Linked DNA regions of Homo sapiens: regions 1 and 2 are each linked to region 3. The links are contacts of gene promoters, found by promoter capture Hi-C in blood cells and fetal thymus (Javierre and others, 2016). All regions are on one chromosome and are shown on one strand. Each heading gives the region's core, a stretch centred on a gene start or on the middle of the fragment in contact. The rest is flanking DNA. Distances are from core to core; before and after follow the strand shown.

What was found. Contacts are between HindIII fragments. The CHiCAGO score rates a contact against its expected background, and 5 or more counts as called.
Region 1: the fragment with the promoter of GFPT1 here is called in contact with the fragment with the promoter of FAM136A in region 3 in 6 of 17 cell types (total B cells, fetal thymus, non-activated CD4 T cells and 3 more); the score reaches 11.4 in total B cells.
Region 2: a fragment that was not itself captured here is called in contact with the fragment with the promoter of FAM136A in region 3 in 9 of 17 cell types (naive CD8 T cells, naive CD4 T cells, non-activated CD4 T cells and 6 more); the score reaches 8.5 in naive CD8 T cells.

Annotation. Positions count from the first base shown.
Region 1 is chr2:69,385,888-69,388,587 of GRCh38, reverse strand. It overlaps GFPT1 (glutamine--fructose-6-phosphate transaminase 1), which reads left to right and starts at 1,361. Exons shown (of 20, transcript NM_001244710.2): 1 at 1,361-1,523. The coding sequence starts at 1,517. RefSeq lists silencers at 942-1,051, 1,112-1,781 and an enhancer at 1,010-1,569. The HindIII fragment of the contact is 6,543 bases long and covers 1-2,700 here.
Region 2 is chr2:70,923,272-70,925,971 of GRCh38, reverse strand. All of the region lies in intron 2 of VAX2 (ventral anterior homeobox 2), which reads right to left. Among named protein-coding and RNA genes, the nearest start is that of ATP6V1B1, 11 kb to the left of the region's middle. The HindIII fragment of the contact is 8,926 bases long and covers 1-2,700 here.
Region 3 is chr2:70,300,794-70,303,493 of GRCh38, reverse strand. It overlaps FAM136A (family with sequence similarity 136 member A), which reads left to right and starts at 1,427. Exons shown (of 3, transcript NM_001329752.2): 1 at 1,427-1,890; 2 at 2,514-2,654. The coding sequence starts at 1,483. RefSeq lists a silencer at 1,238-1,507 and enhancers at 1,193-2,141, 2,142-2,700. The HindIII fragment of the contact is 2,364 bases long and covers 1-1,732 here.

The DNA.
Region 1 (2,700 bases), core at 112-2,611, 910 kb after region 3:
CTTTGTGCTGTGGTCTAAAAGTGTTGGGTATGTAAAATCTAGTTCTAGCTTCAAGAAACTTACAGCCCAGTGGGAAAATACAGAAAATCATAAAATATCAAAGAATATTTCTTTACAGTGAGTAGCTCAAAGAGTAAGAGGTTAATGCATGTCTCCAAGTCTGTCTAGGGGGGATAAAAAAGGCTTTCCTGAAGAGGTAGCATCTAAACAGAGACGTGGTGGGGATTCTATGCAGAGTAACCAAAGTGTGCAAAAGATTTGAGAATCTTGGCCCAGTTGAGGAACTACCTGTTGAGCCTGTTGGGAGTGTATAGGGCTGGAAGGACGGCTAAGACCAGACACATGAACAGCAGTCAGCAGGCTAAGACCAGACACATGAACAGCAGTCAGCACTCCAGGAATTCTGTGTGCCATGTACGTTTTTGATACTACTCTACTCTAGAGCCATTATAGAGTTCTGATTACTCCACATTTGACTAAAGATACCATTTAAGGCTGTTTAAAGCAAATGCCCAGGTAATAAATTCTCAGAAACATCATCCCTCTCTAATCAAGTCTCTCTTGTCAGACATGGCGCATTAATTCATAGAATGAATCGTTCGTAAGTCAAACGCGCGGCTGTTAAAGCTAGGGAATTCCTAGCCGTCTCAGGTGGGTCATGGGAGGAGGTGGGCCAGCAGTTTCTTACGTCCAGGCTCATAGTCGGATAGTTGAGCCTTACATTCCTCCTCTACCCCTCCACAATAAACTGAGGGTTATGGAGGCAACGGATGCGGAGGGCTTTTAGGGGCCAAGCATATTACACAAGGAATTGAATTGCTTATTACCAGAGAGGCTGACCTTTGGGGCTTTACAGTCAAGAATTTTGTTATCTCTCTCCTCCCACCTCAACCTAATTCTTTGCAATTTTTTTCAGCCTTATGTTCCCCAGGATTCCCTTTTCATACTTCCTGCTTTTTTCCTCCTCTTTCCTCGCTTCGTGCAGTGCTGGCGCCTGGGGCCTGGGGCTGCACGGGGCACGCACCCGGGCTATTGCTTTGCTAACAATTCCATCCTTCTCTTTCCGTCATTCCCTGCCAGGTGCTGAGTTTCTCCCTCCCTCTCGGCTCGGTCCCTCCCGCGGCTCGCCCCGGGGCGGGCGTCTCCAGGAACTCCAGGCGGACGCGGCCACGAGCCACTGCCACGTCGCCGCCGCCAGCAGTCCAGCGCCTGCGTGGGCTCGGGGGGCGGGGCAGCGCTGGGAGGCGGGACTTGCGCGTGAGCGGCGCGTGAGCGGTTCAATGGAGCCTACGGGCGGCGGCGCGCTGCGCGCCGAGGGGCGGGGCCCGGCGGCGGTTGCTGGCGGAGCCCGGGAGGCGGAGAAGGCTGTCGTTGCCTTGGCCGTCGCATCCCCGAGGGAGTCGTGTCGGCGCCACCCCGGCCCCCGAGCCCGCAGATTGCCCACCGAAGCTCGTGTGTGCACCCCCGATCCCGCCAGCCACTCGCCCCTGGCCTCGCGGGCCGTGTCTCCGGCATCATGTGTGGTAAGGGGGCCGGGAGCGGGGGGCGTGTTGCCGGGTGGCGCTGGGGTGCGGTGCGGGTGCCGCTAAGGCCCAAGGCGACGGGCGGAAGCGGGAGTGTGGAGGGTGCGAAGTCTGGGTGATGGGCAAGGGGCGCCCAGTGGTGGCTGCGGGGGCGGGGGCCGGCATCCACGGGCGGGAGAGGGGGTGGCGGCCGGGAGAAAGGCACCTGAGAGGAAGGCGGGCCCCCTTTGCCGGGGGCTAGCGGGCGCCTTGGCGCGGAGAAGGAACCGAAAGGGGAGAGAAACGCCTTTATTGAAAAAGGAGGAGAGAGCTGAGGGAATTGAGGTGTGGAGGGGGTTGCCTTCAAAAGGGCCCACCAGGTGAGTGAGGAAACCTGTGGAACCTCGGGCGAGGTCTCTTGAACTTACCTTGCATTTTTCTAAAAATCTTTAAAAAAATATTTTACTTGTTTCTGGGGAGGCCCAATAGAAAACAGACCCTAGCTAGAGCCACGGTAGTGCCATTAAACGTGATACTTCCTGCCATCCCTTGTCTCAACAGAAACCATTGCTAATCAATAACTTGGTTCATGGGCTTAGACCTGATCCTCTGGTGGAAGAGGCCTTCAAATGTCTGTGGCGATAGGTTATACATAATTTATCATTTGCGTGTGCACCCATTAAAAATGCCAGCTCTGAAAAATATCAGTTATACCTTGGATGTATACCCCTTTAGAATACCAACTATGAAAAATATCATTTATCCCTTGCATGTGCATCCATTAAAAATACTAGCTATGGAAAGTTGAGCAAATATCTTTCCTAGAGCCTTAAAAAATTAAGGTTAGGCCCTTTTATTCCATGTTTTGAGAGTCGTTTATTATGACCTAAGTGTTAGTGAAAGAGACTTTGAGAATCGTGTCTGACATGACTGATATCTTCTAAAATTGGTGTTAATTTGGCTATTGCCAGTAAAAATAATTGTATTCTTACCTTTCTTATTGAAATTTACAACCGACTTTATCCCTGGAAGAAAGTACACTTTTTTTTTTTTTTTTTAAAGGGAAGTACCATTGTAAGAGAATTGAAAACTCTCTGGGAGACTTCTTATTTGCAGCCTTTTACACGAAGGAACTGAACAGGAGGTGGATTGTACTCGTTAGTGTATATATTTCCTGTATTTAACTTTATGCTCATTT
Region 2 (2,700 bases), core at 168-2,667, 620 kb before region 3:
GTAGAGATGCTATTTGGCAGAAGGAAGAGAAGAGAAAAAAGAGAGGAGAAGAGATAAAAAGAGAGGAGAGGAGAGGAAGAAACAGAGAGAGAAGCAGATATTTTGGAGAGCAGTTGGAGCACATACTCAGCAGAGCACTGGGAGGAAGTTCTGTGAGTAGCTGGTGCTGAATCCCTCGGGCCCAAAAGAGCCTTTGGCTTCCAGTCTCTTCCAATTCCTGGCTACACCATGGTTCCTGTTATTGAATTTCAACAAGGCTATGGCTTCTGTTTTTAATCCCTGGGGAGTCCATCCATTATCTGAGGGCACTTGAAGGAATTTCTTATCTTTTCCCCCAAAAGAGCTCTGACAGAGACTCTCAGATAACTTAAACCAGAGAAAAACCAGCCCTCCCCCCAAAATCTGACATGCTTTCTTGACATCTCCGCTGGGATCTCAAACTTAACTGATCCAAAACAAAATTCTTGATTATGCTCCCACCATCTTGCTTCTCCCCCAGTTTCTCAACTCATTATATGGTGTCACCATTCTCCCAGTTGTTCTACCCAAACCACTTCCTTTCCCTTGCCCTGGGCGTATAATCCATGAGCAAGTCCTAATATGTTCCAGCACTAAATTAGAGTGCCTCTCACATTAGTACGCTTCTCTCCTCCACCACTGCTCTGTTCAGGACCCATGTCAGTAGTTCCTACCTGTCCACACCTGTCCACTCCTTTCCCCTGTGGGTCCCTTCCCCAAGTGGCAGCCAGAGAACCTCTGTAAAATGCCAATCATCTCCTGTCACTTTCTCTTCAATGTATTACCATAGTCTCTAAGCATCGCATGATCCTCCCCTACCTACTTACCCAATTACCCTGTAGCTCCAGCCACTCTGGCCTTCTGATACTTCTAGAACATTCTATGCCAATTCCTGCCCCTCACGTCTTCATAGTTACCGTCTGCCTTGACGTCTCCTTCTGGCTCCTCATCTGGCTGTTTCTCCCTTGCCACTCAGGCCTAAGCTCAACGTCATCTTCTCAAAGAGGCCTTCCCTGAACACCCCAGTAAAACACTTCCTTTTAGTCTCTCTCCTATGACCCCATTTGAGCTCCCTCACAACACTCATCACTCCTGGAAATGCGGTTTGTCTTTGTCTCTGTGGATCTTAGCTGCACGAGGGCAGATGCCTGGTCTGTTTTGTTCTAAGCCAAAGCCCAAGTGCCTAGAAGAGTACCTGCTATATAGTAGGTATTCAATAATATTTTTGAACAAAATTATGGGTGAACATACTGAGAATGCCACAGAATTCTAGCTACAAGTTAGTTAACCTCTCTGAGGCTCAGTTTGCTTAAATGGGGATAATAGTACCCATAAAGCCATCTTCATGGGTACTATTACCCATGAATGCACCCGCTGCAAGTCTTGAGCAAGTTATCTATTTAACTTTTCTATGCCTCAGTTTCCTTCTATTTAAAGTGGAAACAATATACTCTTATTGGCTGGGCATGGTGGCTCACACCTATAATCCCAGCACTTTGGAAGGCCGAGGAGGGAGGATTACTTGAGACCAGGAGTTCCAGGCCAGCCTAGGAAACAAAGCGAGACCCCGTCTCTACAGTAAACATAAATAAATAAATAAATAAATAAGACTTACTGTTGTATGCTAATGAGGTGATTCAGGGTGGATCTCTAGGTAGTTTCAGGACTGGGGCTGGTTCTAGAAAGACCATACTTGTGATTAGAGGGTAGAAACTTTCAGCCGCCCCCATTCTTTCCTTCTAGGGAGGGGAGGGGAATGGAGATTGGATTATAGTCTTTTTTTGTTTGTTTTTGAGATAGAGTCTTGCTCTGTCATCCAGGCTGGAGTGCAGTGAAGCTAACATGGCTCACTGTAGCCTTGACCTCCTGGGCTCAAACAATCCTCCCACCTCAGCCTCCCAAGTAGCTGGGACTACAGGTGTGTGCCACCACACCCTGCAGTTTACAGTGTAAACTGTAAAAAATGTTTTAAAAAACTTTTTTTAGAGATAAGGTCTCCCTCTGCTGCCAAGGCTGGTCTTGAACTCCTGGACTCCTGAGCAATCCTCCCTCCTTGGCCTCCCAAAGTGCTGGGATTGCAGGCGTGAGCCACTGTGCCAGGCCGGCCTGGATTTAGTCTTGAACAAGGAGACCAGGAGAACTTCTGGTTGGCGAACACGTGGAAGTGCTGGGAATGGGGGCACTGGAAACGGCATGGGAGCTCCACGCACCTCCCCCTTACCTTGCCCTTTGTGTCTCTTCCATCTGGCTCTTCCTCACTCGTGTCATTTATAATAAACCAGCAAGTGTAGGGGAGGTGTTTCCTGAGTTGTGTGCGTCATTCTAGTGAATTGTCAAACCTGCAGAGGGCGATGTGGGAGCCCCCGGTTTTAGGCCAGTCCATTCAGAAGCACAGGTGGCTCCTGGAACTTGAGTCTGCTGTGGCACTGTCTTGTGGGACAGAGCCCTTAACTTGTAGGGTCTGTGCTAGCTCTGGGAATTAGTGTCAGTATTGAACTGTTGAATATACTCAGTGATGCTGGAGAATTGGAGCACTGCCTGCTGGTGGTTGGAACATACCATACACCTGGTGTTGGAAGAAAAATCTCACACGTATCCCATAAGGTTGTGGTGAGGACTAAACTAGTTAGACTATGTCACACCCTTGGAACAGGACCTGGTGCATGGGAAGCGCTCAATAAG
Region 3 (2,700 bases), core at 178-2,677:
TACCCAAAAGAAAAGAAAATCTGTGTCTACAAAAGACTTGGTCCAGGACTGGGTGGTGGTGCATACCCGTAATCCCTTTGATAGGCAGAGGCAGGAGGATAGCTTGAGGCCTGGAGTTTGAGACCAGCCTGGACAACATAGCAAGATCCCATCTCCAAAAGAAAAAAAAAATGGTCAAGGATGTTCATAGTCACCACTTTATTCATAATAGCTACTAAGTGGAAAAGACCCAAACACCCATCAGCAGGGGAATGGATCAACAAATGTGGGCCGGGACCGATGCCTCATGCCTGCAATCTCAGCACTTTGGGAGGCCGAGGTGTGTGGATCCCTTGAGCTCAGGAGTTGGAGACCAGCTTGGCTAACATGGTGAAACCCCGTGTCTACAAAAAAAAAAAAAAAATTAGCCAGACGTGGTGGCACATGCCTGTAATCCCAGCTACTCGGGAGGCTGAGGCATGAGAATCACTTGAACCAGGGAGGTGGAGGCTGCATGAGCCGAGACCACATCACTGCACTCCAGCCTGGGTGACAGAGTAAGACCCTGTCTCAAAAAACAACAACGACAAATGTGGTATGTCCATTCAATAGAATACTACTCAGCAGCAAAAAAGAACCAACAACACAGCTCAATCTCGAAAGCATTAGGCTAAGTATTTTTCAGCAATATGCTAAAAAAGCCAGACAGAAAAGGAGTACTTATTGGATAATAACATACATATGACATTCTAGAAAGAGAAAATGTAATCTACAGTGACAGAAGCAGACCAGTTAGGGCAGGGGTGGGGAGATGGGGTAGAAAGGACGGAGATTGGGACAAGACAGAGTTTGGGTTTTTATTGTTGTTTAGAGACAGAGTCTCACTCTGTCGTCCAGGCTGGAGTGCAATGGCGTGATTTCGGCTCACTGCAACCTCTCCCTCCCGGGTTCAAGCAATTCTCCTGCCTCAGCCTCCCAAATAGCTGGGACTACAGGCATGTGCCACCACACCCGGCTAATTTTTGTATTTTTAGTAGGGACGGGGTTTCGCCAGGTTGGCCAGGCTGGTCTCAAATTCCTGAGCTCAGGTCATCCACCTGCCCACGGCCTCCCAAAGTGCTGGGATTACAGGCGTAAGCCACTGCGCCCGGCGGACAGGGTTTGTTAAAACTCATCAAGCAGCACGCCTAAGATCTGGGCATTTATCTGTATGTAAATTACATTAAATAATTTTAAAGAATGTAAAGGGAGGGACATGGGAGGGAGGAGGAAAGGCAGGCAGCAGCCGCAGGGCAGGTGTCCCAGTGACCGGTTCCCAAGCGGGAGGAGGGCGGTGGGCTCGCGGACACCAGCATGCAGTGGCTCCGTTCGGCCGCCAGGGGGGGGCGTGGGCCCTGGAAGGGCAGGCGGCGAAGGGCGGCGAAGGGCGGTGAGGGGGCGGGCCCGTACGCCGATTCCATATGGGCGCCGGCGCGGAGCGCCGCGGGGCAGCGCGGGGTCGCCATGGCTGAGCTGCAGCAGCTCCGGGTGCAGGAGGCGGTGGAGTCCATGGTGAAGAGTCTGGAAAGAGAGAACATCCGGAAGATGCAGGTAGCGGGGCTGGGGCCGAACCAGGACCCCCTTCTCAGCGGGTGGGTTCCGGGCCCTTCCCTCAGCCACCACGCGACGCCTTGCACTGCAGCCGCGTCCCCGCAGACCGGGTGTGGGCGGCCCTGGGGTCGCCGGGGCGGCCTCGGACAGGACTTCGGAAGCTTTGGCGGATCGGATGAAATCCGTGTGCCCTTGCCGTGCGCGAGGCTGTTTTCCGCCCCTTCCAGCCCGGGGCAGGAGCGTCCTCGGCGGCAGGTGGGAAGCCCCTGGTGGCAGGCGCTCGCCCCACCACCTTCCCCTCTTACGCGGCCCCTTCCGCAGGTGAGCGGCCCGAGGCCCAGCAGAGGCGCTGCCAACGTGAAAGACCAGAAAGGCGAGGACTTCCGGCCTCCCCGTTGGCCAGGTCATGCCTGCTTCTCTTGCGCCCAACCTCGCTTCACACAGCGCGGGTTTCTACACTGTTCTTCTCTGAGCCCCGCAATGCCTCTGTGTGTTTCGGTCCTGCTTCTCTCACGGAGTATGCGTTTCCCAGATAGTGCCCCTTGAGTCATTGATTAGTGGGTCGGCTGCCCTCTGGTGGAATTTGTATTGCTAGGTTGCTGACCTCTGAACCCCATGGAAGAGGCTCCTGGTTTTCAGAATTTGGCTTCGTCAGACCACCCTACCCTCACCCACTCGGGCGAACCTCTGTTCACCCAACCATCGGTGCAACAGGTGCCGATGAGCTAGCAGCAAGGACACCATGAAACACTACACTAGACATTGAGGATAATTTTCCCCAGTGGTGGTTTTAAGGTCCTGGTGTCTATTCTCAGGGAAGGTGAAAGCAGAAGGTGGAGAGAGAGGTGCAAATATCCACGTGGCCTTCTAACTCCTGTAGTGCTCCATAGTCATCTCTGTCCCCAGAGACTTTCCTACCTAACCTCTCTGCCCTTTCTCCCCAGGGTCTCATGTTCCGGTGCAGCGCCAGCTGTTGTGAGGACAGCCAGGCCTCCATGAAGCAGGTGCACCAGTGCATCGAGCGCTGCCATGTGCCTCTGGCTCAAGCCCAGGCTTTGGTCACCAGTGAGCTGGAGAAGTTCCAGGTGAGAAATATCCTAGACAGAGCACTGTAGTCCTTGATACAGACTT